Regions from separate parts of the Homo sapiens genome. Here region 1 is linked to region 2. Evidence: promoter capture Hi-C in 16 types of primary human blood cells and fetal thymus (Javierre and others, 2016). All regions are on one chromosome and are shown on one strand. Each heading gives the region's core, a stretch centred on a gene start or on the middle of the fragment in contact. The rest is flanking DNA. Distances are from core to core; before and after follow the strand shown. Region 1 has its middle 90 kb from the start of ZFP64. Region 2 holds the start of CYP24A1 (cytochrome P450 family 24 subfamily A member 1).

Region 1 (6,707 bases), core at 215-2,714, 2.1 Mb before region 2:
ACATGCACCCAGTGAGTTGGAGGCTGCAGTGAGTTATGATCACACCACTATACTCCAGCCTTAACAGAGCAAGACCTTGTCTTGGGATGCTGAGGCAGGAGAATTGCTAGAACCTGAGAGGCGGAGGTTGCAGTGAGCCGAGATCACACCATTGCACTCCAGCCTGGGCAACAAGAGTGAAACTGTCTCCAAAAAAAAAAAAAAAAAGAGTCCATATATGTATAACCTCAGGGTGGAAGCTACTATGAATCCAATGTTCTGGTGAGTCCCACGCTGAGCTCTGGATGCTACAGGCCTCTTAGGCCCCCCAGGGAAGGCTGTTGTGTGCTGATGTAGATACTGGCATGTTGTCAGCAAACAAGAGTAACATGAGCAGGCAGCTCAGAGATTCACGTAGGGCTTGCAGATCAGTGCTTGGCTCAGAAGCGGCTCAGCACGCAGGGTTTTACTCTTACCTGGGTAGCAACAGTTGAACGTCCTCTCTCCAAGGGTGGCCATTTGTTCCCTTGCCTCTGAGGGAAGAGTGATGACAGGGGCCTTCGGAGTGTCAGTGCTTTCAGTGGAGAGGCAGTTTGCTTTTGGAACATCATCATCAAGTTCTGAAGCTGAAATTGAGGCATAGTTTTGCTTAGTTTCTCATTTATAACCACCATGCTAAGTCTTAGAATACAGTAGGTTTGGGCTTATTTCACCTCCCTTCACCTTTCCAGAAAAAATTTAAAAAAAATGAAAGCCATGTGACCAGGCGGGGTGGCTCATGCCTGTAATCCCAGCACTTTGGGAGGCTGAGGTTGGTGGAGCACGAGTTCAGGAGTTCGAGACCAGCCTGGCCAATATGGTGAAACCCTGTCTCTACTAAAAATACAAGAATCAGCCAGGCATGGTGGTATGTGCCTGTAGTCCCAGCTACTCGGGAGGCTGAGGCAGGAGAATCGCTGGAACCTGGGAGGCAGAGGTTGCAGTGAGCCGAGATCATGCCACTGCACTCCAGCCTGGGCAACAGAGCAAGACTCTGTCTTTACCAAAAAAAAAAAAAAAAAGCAAGCCATGTATGCTCTGTCTTGCAAAAGTCCTCTTCCCCTTACTACGGTTTCCAAGAAGTACAGGGGACAGGACACTGTCACATAACAGGGAAACTGGCAAAATCTAAACTAAAAAACATATGAGTACTTCTTAAATGGCATGAAGACCTAGTTTTTTCTAACAATTTCTAATCCATCCCAGGCTGATATTTCTGTAAAATATGATAAACAAGAATTAGGGGAGAGGTGGAATAAGATAAAAAGAGCCCAATCATTAGATACAGCAAAAAGCTGGATGCCATGGCAATGTCAAACTTTTTTTTTTTTTTTTAAGATGCTTACTCTGGATTTCTGATTTGTTTTGCCTCAGTTCAGCAAAAGGTCACAGACCACACATCACTGATCTCCAGGATAAAACAGTTGTTTCAACAAATAACTTGAAAGAAGAAAGATGGAAGAGGAGAAAAAGCAAAGACTGAGAGACTTGAGGTGGTCGACAATATCGGGACTTTACTTGGCTCCTGATTAGAATATGCTGGAAAAGCTGAGATGGTAAGAAGTGTGCTCACTCACTGCAAGTTTGCTACAGGGGTTTTATACTTTGGTGTGAAAATGGAATTAGAGTTTAAAGAGCATTCCCCATAGTCTAAGGATGAATGTTGAAACATTTACAAGTTGTATGATATGTGAATTTGTCTTCAAAAATAATCCAGGGCAGGGAGAGAGCTGGCATAAGGAGAAATGAGATTGACCACATGCAATTAATGGTTGAAGTGGATCAATGGATGAGAATTCACTATAGTCTATTTTTAGGAAGGTTGAACTAGGTGAAATCGCTATTTTTGTTAGCCAAAACGGTCAAATAATTTCATGTTTCAATCTAATATGTAGGTTTTAAGATTCCTACAGCAAAGATTAAGTACTAGAAGATTCTGAAATATCTCAAAATAGACTTAAATCTAAAAGGAAAAAAGGTCCCATCAAGGTCTGAAGTTTTTTCTTTTTTTGAGACGGAGTCTCGCTCTGTCACCCAGGCTGGATTGCAGTGGTGTGATCTTGGCTCACTGCAAATTCCGCCTCCCGGGTTCACGCCATTCTCCTGCTTCAGTCTCCCAACGGGGACTACAGGCACCCACCACCATGCCCGGCTAATTTTTTGTATTTTCAGTAGAGATGGGGTTCCACTGTGTTAGCCAGGATGGTCTCGATCTCCTGACCTTGTGATCCACCCACCTCGGCCTCCCAAAGTTTTTTTTTTTGAAACAGAGTCTCACTCTGTCGCCCAGACTGGAGTGCAGTGGTACCATCTCAGCTCACTGCAACCTCTGCCTCCTGGGTTCAAGCGATTCTCCTGCCTCAGACTCCCAGGTAGCTGGGATTACAGACGTGCGCCACCACGCCTGCCTAATTTTTGTATTTTTAGTAGAGACAGGGTTTCACCATGTTGGCCAAGTTGGTCTTGAACTCCTGACCTCAAGTGATCCGCCCATCTCAGCCTCCCAAAGTGCTGGGACTATAGCCACGAGCCACTGTGTACAGCCATCTAAAGTCTTAGAAGATTGACTAGCTTATGAATTATAGGCCAAGGTCTGGGACTTTCTCTGTCCTAAGGTTATTACAAAAGGTGGATTATCACTTTTATTGAGAAGTTTGTGCGGGTGAAGGAATCTTAGCATGAGAGGCTGTAGAGCACAGTGGTGAGGGCTTCAGTTTTAGGCAGAGGGTTTGCTCAGCTATGTGCTGTGCAACTATTGGCAAGCTACTTAACCTTTCTGAGCTTCAGTTTACTCGTTTGCAAAAGGAGATTACATGCCTCAGAGTTGCAGAGTTAAACAAGATGAAAAAATATATAAGTTCTCAGTACAGTGTCATCTGAGTAAATACAATTGCGTGGCTTCAGATGTCGCAAGTGAGGACTACAGATTTCACATCCTAGCAGTTGTGCTCGAAGCCCCTTAACAAGTGATCTAGTCCAGTGGCTCTCAACTGGGGGCCATTCTACCACCAAAGGACACTCAGCAATGCCTGGGAACATTTTCAATTGTCATGATTCTGTTTGCATGCATGTTTGAGAATGGCATCTAGTGGGTGAAGGCCAGGGATGCTGCTAGACATCCTATAGGGCATAGGACAGCCCCCACAAGGAAACGATGCAGCCCCAAAGGTCAATAGGGCTGGGGTTGAGAAAGTCTGCAGTAGTCCTACTCCCAATGTTTCTTCCAAGTGTAATCCTGATACTATCTGTGTCACAATCACCTAGATCATGGGTTCAGTGTAGTTTCCCAGGCCTTACCCTATACTCACTGAAAACTTAGGGGCAGGAGGAGGGGTGGTAGTGTGGATCAAGTAAGGACTTGCGATTCCAGGGACTTGCGATTTTTTTTTGAGACAAGGTCTCGCTGTCACCCAGGCTGGAGTGCAGTGGCACCAACATGGCTCACTGCAAACTCCGCCTTCCAGGCTCAAGCCATCCTCCTACCTCAGCCTCCCGAATAGCTGGGACCACAGGCATGCACCACCACATGCCTAGTTTTTGTATTTTTGTATTTTTTTGTAGTTTTGTATTTTTTGTAGTTTTGTTTTTATAGAGACAGGGTTTTGCCATGTTGCCCATGCTGGTCTCAAACTCCTGAGCTCGAGCAATCTGCCCACCTTAACCACTCAAAAGTGCTGGGATTACAGGCATGAGCCACCACACCTGACCTCAGGGCCTTGCATTTTTGAAGCACTTGCCAGATGATTCTGCTGTATTACTTGTAAGTCCTTGCTACTCAAAGGGTGGTCCCTAGAGCACCAGCATCACCTGAGAGCTTGTTAAAAATGCAGAGTCTCAGCCGGGTGCCGTGGCTCATGCCTGTAATCCTAGCATTTTGGGAGGCTGAGGCAGGCGTCCCATCCTGGCTAACACAGTGAAACCTGTCTCTACTAAAAATACCAAAAAAAAAAAAAAAAAAAAAATTAGCCAGGTGTGGTGGCATGTGCCTGTAATCCCAGCTACTCAGGAGACTGAGGCAGGAGAATCGCTTGAACCTGTGGGGCAGAGGTTGCAGTGAGCCCAGATCGTGCCACTGCACTCCAGCCTGGTGAGAGTAACTCCATCTCCAAAAAAAAAAAAAAAAAAGGCAGCAGTCTCAGGCCCTACTCCAGACTTACAGAACCAATCTGTACTTTAGCCAGATCCCCAGGTGATTCCTGAGCACAGCACATTACAATTTGAGAAGCACAGCTCACAGCCAGTGGTTCTCAGACGTCAGCGTGTATCAGAATTGCCTAGAAGGCTACTTAAAACACAGGTGGCAGGGGCTCCCATTTGGAGTTCCTGATTGAGTAGGTATGGGGTGGAGCCTGCGATTTTTCACTTCTAACAAGTTCCCAGTTGATGCCGATGCTGGTCTGGGAACCATACTTTTGAGTCTCTTGCTCTGTGAGCAAGAAACTGGCTCAGATGCTCAAGGTTGCAGGACTGGAAGTTTTCAGCTCATTGGAACCCACACTTGCCAGATCTGCAACCCATCCTATGTCCCTCAGGGACAGACACAAACAAAGCCTCATTACATAGCAACTCACATACTAGAAGAGAAAACCATTAAACTCTTGAGGGTTTTAATTCCACAGAAGTCAAGCAAGACTGAAAACAAATCTAAGTGAGGCACTGTATAACACAGTGGTTTGGGGAACAGACTGGGAAACCAGCTGATAAGTTTCAATTCCAGTTTTACCATTAGCTGTGTCCCACTGGATAAGCTACTCAACTTCCCCGTTCCTCAGTTTCCACATCTGTGAAATGGGTATTATGGCCGTCTCATTAGCTTAGATGAAGTTCTTTAGTATATGTAAGAGAACCTCATGTATTAGTCAATACTGTATAAATGCTATTAGTGTTATTCACTGATATACACACGTAAGATTCTACCAGATTCTCAGGGGGAGAAAGATGCATGTTTTCAACGCAAACTAGAAAAGTGAGAGAGAGGTGGGTTAAAGGATGACCCAGATAGAGCCTCTGATGGGGAGGTGTGAGGGGCCTCCGATTTCTTTTACGTTTAGACACCCAGGAAACCAAAGAAGGCCTGAAGCCCACTCTCCTGGGAAAGGTGCAGCTGGGGGAGACCCTCTGCCTCTGGAAGTGGGGGTGGGCCGCATTTGACTATTAGAAACCAGGTTAGCATGGCGAGGGTTTTAACTCCTGGGGAAACGGATGATGTTCCCTCAGTAAGGTTCCTCCAGCCCCTTCGTCATTTTACTGGTGGTGACAGGAAGTCCACTAATTACTTTCCATTTTATTTTCCTCCAAAAGCTACTTGAGTTGCAAAGACACTTGCAAATTAAGAGTGGCCCAACCTTCGTAAAAAATGTACCCCCTTGCCAGTGTCGCAGACCAAAGGTACTAGGATAAAACGTCAGTTGGAAGACGGTTTTTTCTCCGAAGTGGTGGCTGGGGTTGAGGCACACTACTGGGCCGGCAGAGTTTGCGTCCTGCTCCCACAGAAGTCACCTCAGTACTCCAGGACGCACGACACCCTCCCCATGCCCGAAACACTGGGTGCGGCTCCAGAAGGCGCCTCGCAGCGCTGGCTGCAGGAATCCAAAGTAGCTCAGTGCACAGACTTTCAACTCCAGCCTGGGGTTACTCAGCAATTCTCTTCTATAAACACCTCCCCCAAAAGACTCAGCATCCCCAGTACCTCCCCAACTTCCCCGAGGCGCAGAGATCAGCAAGAGCCCCGCCCCTCGACCCAGGGGACGGGATCCTGTAAGTCTCACCTGCCTATCTCCATCCCAGGCCTCGGGCACGAGGGTGGTTGTACTATCCTGGTTATGGTAGCTCCACTCGAGCAAGCTTTATTTTAACATATAAGCTATTCGTTTAGTGGAGGCTTCATTAAACTACTCCCCTCCACCACCACCTCGGGAAGTTGTGGTCAAAACCCACCAGACCGACTGTGGTGGAAGTTGATGCGGAAGCTGGAGAGCCCGCGGCTCTGGAGGGGTGAGCCGCCCCGGAGAGGGGACCCATCCTCCTTTCCGCGCCCGGAAAGAGCGGGGGAGAAGAGGAAGTCCAGTTACAACTCCTTTCCTCAGCCCCTTAAAGGAAAGGTATCAGCTAACCACGGGGAGCTGGCAGCCTAAGAGAAAGTAGGAACCTACAATCTCTTAATCTAAGCACAAGATAAGCAAAAAGGGAAGCGCCTTAGAAATGCAGATTCCCCAACCCCACCCCTGAGATTCCAGTGGAGGCGGGGGATGGGGGGATCCCTAACTTGCAGGAAGAATTTGGCGAGCGAGAAAAGGTCCCCTCCCGCAGGCTCTTCTGAAGCGGAGGATCCCGGGACGAGAAATGCTGCCCGGGGGGCTTAAGGTAGCCGACGATCTCCTTGCTACATCCTGTGTCCACGTGGCAGCCGAGGAGGGGGTGTGGGGGCCGCCTGTTAAGTGCGACAGCATCACTGCTCTATCCCCACCACGGCTCCCACTTCGCTCAGATAAAATGCAGAGCTCTTACCAAGGCTCACGGCCGTCCCCCGCCCCCCACCGTCTGCCCCCATCACCTCTCGGGCCTCCGGTGACCTCTCGGGCTACAGCAGCGCTGACGCCCTGGGTCCCTGCGCTTCTGTTCCCTCGGCCTGGAATGCTCTTCCCCCGGGTACCTGCACAGCTCGCTCCCTCCCATCCTTCGGGTCTTCG
Region 2 (6,615 bases), core at 2,631-5,130:
AACGTCTCTTTATTGGTTGGTGGTTATGTTAAGCATGTTGAACTTGGAACCAGAAGATCTACCAATTCTGGACACAGCTCCTTCCCTAAGTAGTCTATGACCTTGGGATAGTCACATAAGACCTTTGGATGCCAGTTTCATAAACCAGAGTTTTCAATAACTAATGCCTCACATTTAATGAGGTCCATATGGTACCAAACACTGTACGAAGTGTATTGGTTGATCCTCTGACAACCAAGTAGTAGTAGGTACCGTCTCTACTCATTTCCCATGTAGTAGATGAGAAAGCTGAGGCTTAAAGAGGCCAAGTCACTCACTTATGCACACAGAGCTGATAAGTTGCCATCCTGGACCCTGCCGTGAGCTGGTGTGGCCATACAGCCCACATGTGTGGATTTAGTTTGCAAGTTTAATTTGCCCGCATAGCGCATTTAAAAGTTCTTTGAATTTGTTACCATTAAAAAAAACAAGAGGTTTCATATGAACATATGGATTTACCACTACTAGTTTAAAAATGTAAATAATAATTATGAGACTTGGTGACATGAGGTCTGCATTCTGACATGGCATTCGTTTGCTGGAACTGGGGCTGCTGTCCCTCCTGGGAGGGGCATGCACTATCACGTTTCCTGAAATTTTTACTGGGTCTGCCTTATTATTTTATATTAGTCATGTGAGCCCTGGAAGCTTCTGAGTTTGCAATCCTTCACCTATATGATCCCATCTGGGGACGCATCCAGTTCAAAATAAACATCCAAAGTGAACAGAAGTAAAAAGAGATTACTTTATGCTTAAAACTCCCTTTGACTCCGTGCTGGCTAAGGGATAATGTCCAAATACCTTAGTATAATACAAAAATATTGTTAAGACCTATCCAGTATCATTTCAGAGAAAGCCTCACATCAGCTACACTAAATGACCGATTCTCTGAACACACCACGTCATTTCATGCCTCCCTGTTTTCAGAAGGCTACTCTGTCTGCCTTAATGCCTTCCCCCACTTTCTCTGCTTTCAGACTCCTCCTGCAAAACCCAGCTCAAATATCACTACTTAAGAACTTTACAATGTTATCTCATTTAATTCTCACAGCAAACCCGTGGGGTGGGAACTGTTACTCCCATTTTGTAGATGGGGAAACTGAGGCTTAGGGAAGGTAAGTGGTATATAGCCAGGTCTCATAGCCAGGGAGTGGAAAGCTGGGGTTCAAATCCAGGGCTGTAGAATACCAAAGTCCACACTCTCCATTGCTCCCTCATTGTGATATGACTTTAAAAGAGGGTGGAGGAGGGAGAAATAAGGGTTTGGTGGGGAGGAGGCTGTAGGAAGGAATGGAGAGAAAGAGAAGACCCCCACTTTGAATCACCCGAATTGCATTCTTTTTTCCTTTGTTCTTTGTAGCTGTGACTTGAAGCTCCACCAATATCCCTATGTCCCCACGAGCCCCAGGAAAGCTGGCCCCAGCCTGCAGACCTCATTGATTTTGTTGTCCAGCTTCATCACTTCCCCTGGTTTCATTAGTTTCTTTTGAAAGGCACTCCGGACCCGCTGCCAGTCTTCCCCTTCCCTGTGAGAGAAGCAGGAATACATTTAGAGCACACTGAAAAGAAAAGAAGGAGATGCAGAAATACTCCAGCTGCAACTTCAGGAACCATAAAATCAAACAAACACTGAGAATCATGCCAAGAAATAGCCAGAGAATATTAGCATCAGAATATTTGGGATAAAATAGTGATCATCTTTTGACAATAGTTTGACAATAGGATGAAAAAGCACCTTTCCTCCTAGTCAAAGATTGCACCAAAAAGTTGAAGTCCAGATAATTTGGGTTCAGGGATTTTGAGGTGTCCTTGCAGGGAGTGGGGCTGGGAGGCCTGGGGACAATTCCTAGCGGTAAAAGGGGGCATGTGAACACCCCATCACCAGCAACTCAGATCTGTTTGAGGGAAGAATCTTGTCTTCTTTCAACTCATTGGTGTGGGCTTCATATTTACAAAATATCTCAGATTTAGAATTTTGCCATCGCCTCCAAATAATAACATACAGTCAGAGAGTCACTGGAGTAATAAAAAGCCTTTTGCGATCGTGCACTTGTAGGCACCTGCCCCATAGCAGACCATACAGCCTGTGAAGCACCGTGAATTAATAGGGTTTTTAATTCCAGTCATTATATCCTGGAAAATATAACGATTAGGCATTACAGTTTGGGGGTAAATAAAGGTGCTAACTTGTTAAATGCTAACAACTAAAAAGCAGAAGAATCACATCCCATAGTAGCATTTGTCGACCTAAAACACAACTTTGATATCCCTCCTTATTCCACCTTTACAAGTAGAAATAAGGCATGTCCCCCAATCCTCTGCAGAAAATGTCACTGTAAAAAGCCAAAGAGGCTAACTCCTCGCTTTTGAGCTTACAAGGTGTTTCAGGGAGTTTTAAGGGATAATTTTGTTTGTATAAGATGTTTGCCTGGTACGCTGACTTCAGAACCTCATCCTGCCCAAGAGTCTGAACACCACAGTTGGTACAACCCTGTTTTGGCGTTTCTTTGATGGGAGGGTGTGGCCCTGCCCTGTTGCCAGAGAGAACGCAGGTGCTGGGTGCACAGCACGGCTTTTCCGTGGACCGACTCTAATCTGTACAAGAGCTCAGGGTTGCGATGGCACGGGAGAGGGGCTTTGGTATCCGCCCTACGTAAGAAGCTTCCAACCCCAGGGAACTCTAACTCCGCCTCTTCACAATTTCCAGGCGCCGTCAGGCTCATCAGGTCTGGCCGCATGCCCAGGTCCCTCGGATTGGACTCACAGGATCAGCAGCCCGTAGCCTTCTTTGCGGTAGTCGCGATAGGCCTTCCACGGTTTGATCTCCAGCCGCTGCGGGTACGCGCTCTCGGTGCGGTACAGCGCTTCCAGCAGGCATGGCGAGCCCAGGTGCACCGACTCAAAGGAACCCAACTTCATGCGGAAAATCTTGCCATACTTCTTGTGGTACTCCACCTGCAGCCGGCCGGGCACAGCGCGGTGTCAGCGCGCATCCTCCGCCGTGCCCGAAGCGCTTTCCCTCCTCCCGCCTCCTTCCTCCTAGGGGACCGGGGACCCTCCCTGCCCAGACGCCGAAGCGCACCATGCGCCCGAGGCGCGCATGTCGGGGAGGGTTTGGAGCGCCACTGGGAGGGCGGAAGAGGGAGGAGAGAGTCAGGGGCGCGAAAAGGGGTTTACCAGGGTGTCGTGCTGTTTCTTGAGACCCCCTTTCCAGAGAATCTGCAGCAGGCTGCCCAGCAGTGGCCAGCTGGTGGGGCCCGGCAGGGCGGCCGCGTTCTGAGTCTCGCCACCAGCTGTCAGCGGGCAGACTGGCACCTCTCGCGGCTGAGGGGACGTGTACGCCGTAGATGTCACCAGTCTCGGGGGCTGCCTCGGACTGCGCAGCTGCTGCAGGAAGGCGGCAAGCGAGCGGCTCTTGCTGATGGGGGAGCTCATGGCAGCGGGGGACACCGGAGCGCGGGAAGGCAGGAGGATGGGGTGGGGCGAGGTTGGTACGAGGTGCTAGTGGGAGTCGGGGCTTAACGATTCTGGGAAAAGGAAGCAAAGAGGGCCAGCTGGTGTGATGGAGCGGGGTGAGGCGGGACAGGCAGCAGAAAGGACCTCGGCGAGGATGCTCGACGCTGCACCACGCGACAGCCTCAGAGCATTGGTGCCTCCTTGCACTGGCCGCAGGGGCTGGAAGAGGGTGGCCGGTGTCTGGGGACCTCTTGAAAAGGGAAAGCTGGGAGTCCTCCTGTTGGTCCGCAAGGCTGACCTCTAGGGTCTGGCTGGAGCCACGGGGAGGTGTCAAGGAGGGTAGATGAGATGCTGCTGGCGCTGCGTTTCCTCCTGTCCCTCTCCATGTTCCTATGCCCAGGGACCATGCATTTATGGAGACAGAGCATGCCCTGGGTGGCCAATGAGCACGCAGAGGAGGGCGGAGTGGCCCCCGGCTGGCCAGACTCCGAGGGACGCGGGACCCAGGGGAGGGGGGGTGGAAGGAGGATGGAGTCAGCGAGGTGAGCGAGGGCGTCCGGGCCTGGGGTGACCGGGGCTATGTTCGCTGGGCGCGGGAGGTGGGGTGGGGGCGGCAGACTCCACCCCGGAGATAACCCCCAGGAAGTCATGCGAAGCCCGGAGTTCACCGGGTGTGCTTCGAACGCGCCTCCCCGCCCTCCCCCGGCGGGCAGGAGCCGGCAGCGGCGGCCGTGGTTGCCGCCCGGCGCTTGCACAATCGCGATGCCGGGCGGGCGAGGTCCCCGAGTGCGGGCCCAGAAAAGCTGCCGGCGTCTGCCAGGGCCCCGGGGAGCCCGGGCGCCTCCCGGGGAGCCAGATACCCCCAGCCTGGACTGAAGTGATTTTTTTTTTTTTTTTGCCTTTTTTTTTTTGGAGGAAGTTTGGCTTTCTGCGCCTCCCAGGGTGGGGAGGATTTGAGTCTTACTGAAATGCACCAGAAGAGGAGACTTTCTTAACTTGAGCAAGAAGGGGAGTTTGTAGAATTTCCTTCCTGCTGTTTCATGTTTGGTTGTTTTGCAGATTAAATGAATTAATGCACGTAAAGCGGCAACAACGAAGCCTTGTCTATAGTCAACAGTCAATAAAAGTTAGTTGCTGTTGTTACTTCTTTAGGAAGTTAGGAAATGCGCCTTGAGAGCGTGGCTTGCACCAACGATGCTTGAATTCAGGCTGGGCCACCTCCCCTATGTCCACTGCCCGCCTCTGTTCTTCTACACCGACTACCTTGTGCAAAGGAGGGGCACACAGAGCTTGAAACCACCGCCCCCAGTACTCCCCCTCTCCCCCAAGGTGCGTCCTAGGCAGGTCCAGTGACAAACATACACAATTTCTAGAGTTACCGCGGCTGGCAAGAGTAGAACTCGCTTTGCTAATTCAGGAACGGAAGTTGGAGATTTTTGTTGATTGTTTTAAAGTGGCTCGAATCCTTTCAACCTGATCCAATACAAAACTACCACCAGCCAGGGAGGAGGGGAGGGACATTCTGTTTCCTCGCCCTGCTTTTCAATTACGTGTCTCAGTCATTTTTGCCCCAAGTGTTGGCAAATCCTTCCCTGGTAAATTCTTTTGTAAGCCTCTAGTTTGTTTCTTAAAAATCTTTTGCAGTCCAACTTAAGCTTTAACACCATCATTTCTGATTTGTCTGGAGGGGCTAATGACTGTTTATGTTAATAAAAATAATAGCTATTGATATATACTAAACTTTATGAATCTTGTACATATTTATATATACATTGTATGGTATATATGTTACAGCATACACTATAGATTATGTTATATGCAATACACACTAAATATACATAATATAGTATAGATTGCATACAGTATGTAGATTCCATATGTTATATAATATTCTCATGAAAGCTTTCTAGGGCTTATGATAAGTCAGGCACTGAGCTAGACATTTTACATCATTTTTTCCGTTTAGTTCTCATCTCAGCCCAATGTCAATAAAATGAAATAAAATAAAAAACAAAAAAAAATCAAAGACAAACAAAAAAACCCTTGACTCTTACAGAGCTAAGTAATTTGCCCAATGTCACAGACGTTACCATTGGCTCAGGTGGGATTCAGACCCAATATTTTCTGATTCTAGGCTGGGCCCTAAATAGTACACCCATATACATCATGCTATGTTATGTCACTTTTTCTTAAACCAGAGTGTCTCAGAATATTGGAAGTATTTCTTAAATGAGAATTATCACCAAGAGGAAAGTGGGGGGGATCAGAATGCCTACCATGTCAGTATGTGTGGGGCAGTGTGAGGCAAACGTTTTATGTGCTGACGGTGGTGAAAAAGAATAGCTCTGGCTGAGTGTAGTGGCTCACGCCTGTAATCCCAGCACTTTGGGAGGCCGAGGTGGGCGGATCACCTGAGGTTGGGAGTTCGAGACCAGCCTGGCCAACATGGTGAAAGCCCATCTCTACCAAAAATACAAAAATTAGCCGGGTGTGGTGGTGCATGCCTGTAATCCCAGCTACTCAGGAGGCTGAGGCAGGAGAATCGCTTGAACTCGGGAGGCGGAGGTTACAGTGAGCCGAGATCGCCCCACTGCACTCCAGCCTGGGCGACAGAGTAAGACTCTGTCAAAAAAAAAAAAAAAAAAATAGCTCTAAACAGAAGGTCTATGTTTTTCACTACTGAGTACCTTGATTCTGGTGAGGTGCTTGGACACAGTGAATGGTCTATTGTTATTTCAACTATTGAGTAATTTTCCCAATTATTCTTTCTTTTCCTTCTCTTTTGGCAGATATGCACAAGGAGAAGAGGAAATAATTTCAGACTTGCTAGGTTTTTCTAAGAGTTTCATGCTATATAGCTTTATATACTCTAAATAGATATTTAAATATATGGGCAATCATTAGTTACATGATAGCTAAAAAGAAAATTCCTGTTTCAGGGATATTGGTTTCTCATGTTCAGTGGAGAAAATCCCCAGTAATTTTTAGACCGGATTGCAGAGGAAAGCAAGACTAGTTCTTTGAAACTTCATTGACCCCAATACATACCTGTCCTTGAGAAGTATGATTAAATTCAAAATGACTATTTTTGATCCCGCTTCCAGGAATTCACTATTCCTC

The links. Contacts are between HindIII fragments. The CHiCAGO score rates a contact against its expected background, and 5 or more counts as called.
Region 1: a contact is called between a fragment that was not itself captured here and the fragment with the promoter of CYP24A1 in region 2, in 1 of 17 cell types (naive CD4 T cells). The highest score is 5.9, in naive CD4 T cells.

What each region holds. Positions count from the first base shown.
Region 1 is chr20:52,097,983-52,104,689 of GRCh38, forward strand. It overlaps a transcript of ZFP64 not described here. Among named protein-coding and RNA genes, the nearest start is that of ZFP64, 90 kb to the right of the region's middle. RefSeq lists an enhancer at 6,691-6,707. The HindIII fragment of the contact is 8,792 bases long and covers 1-5,860 here.
Region 2 is chr20:54,170,106-54,176,720 of GRCh38, forward strand. It overlaps CYP24A1 (cytochrome P450 family 24 subfamily A member 1), which reads right to left and starts at 3,881. Exons shown (of 12, transcript NM_000782.5): 1 at 3,217-3,881; 2 at 2,804-2,994; 3 at 1,472-1,565. The coding sequence starts at 3,474. RefSeq lists an enhancer at 3,511-4,104. The HindIII fragment of the contact is 2,450 bases long and covers 2,699-5,148 here.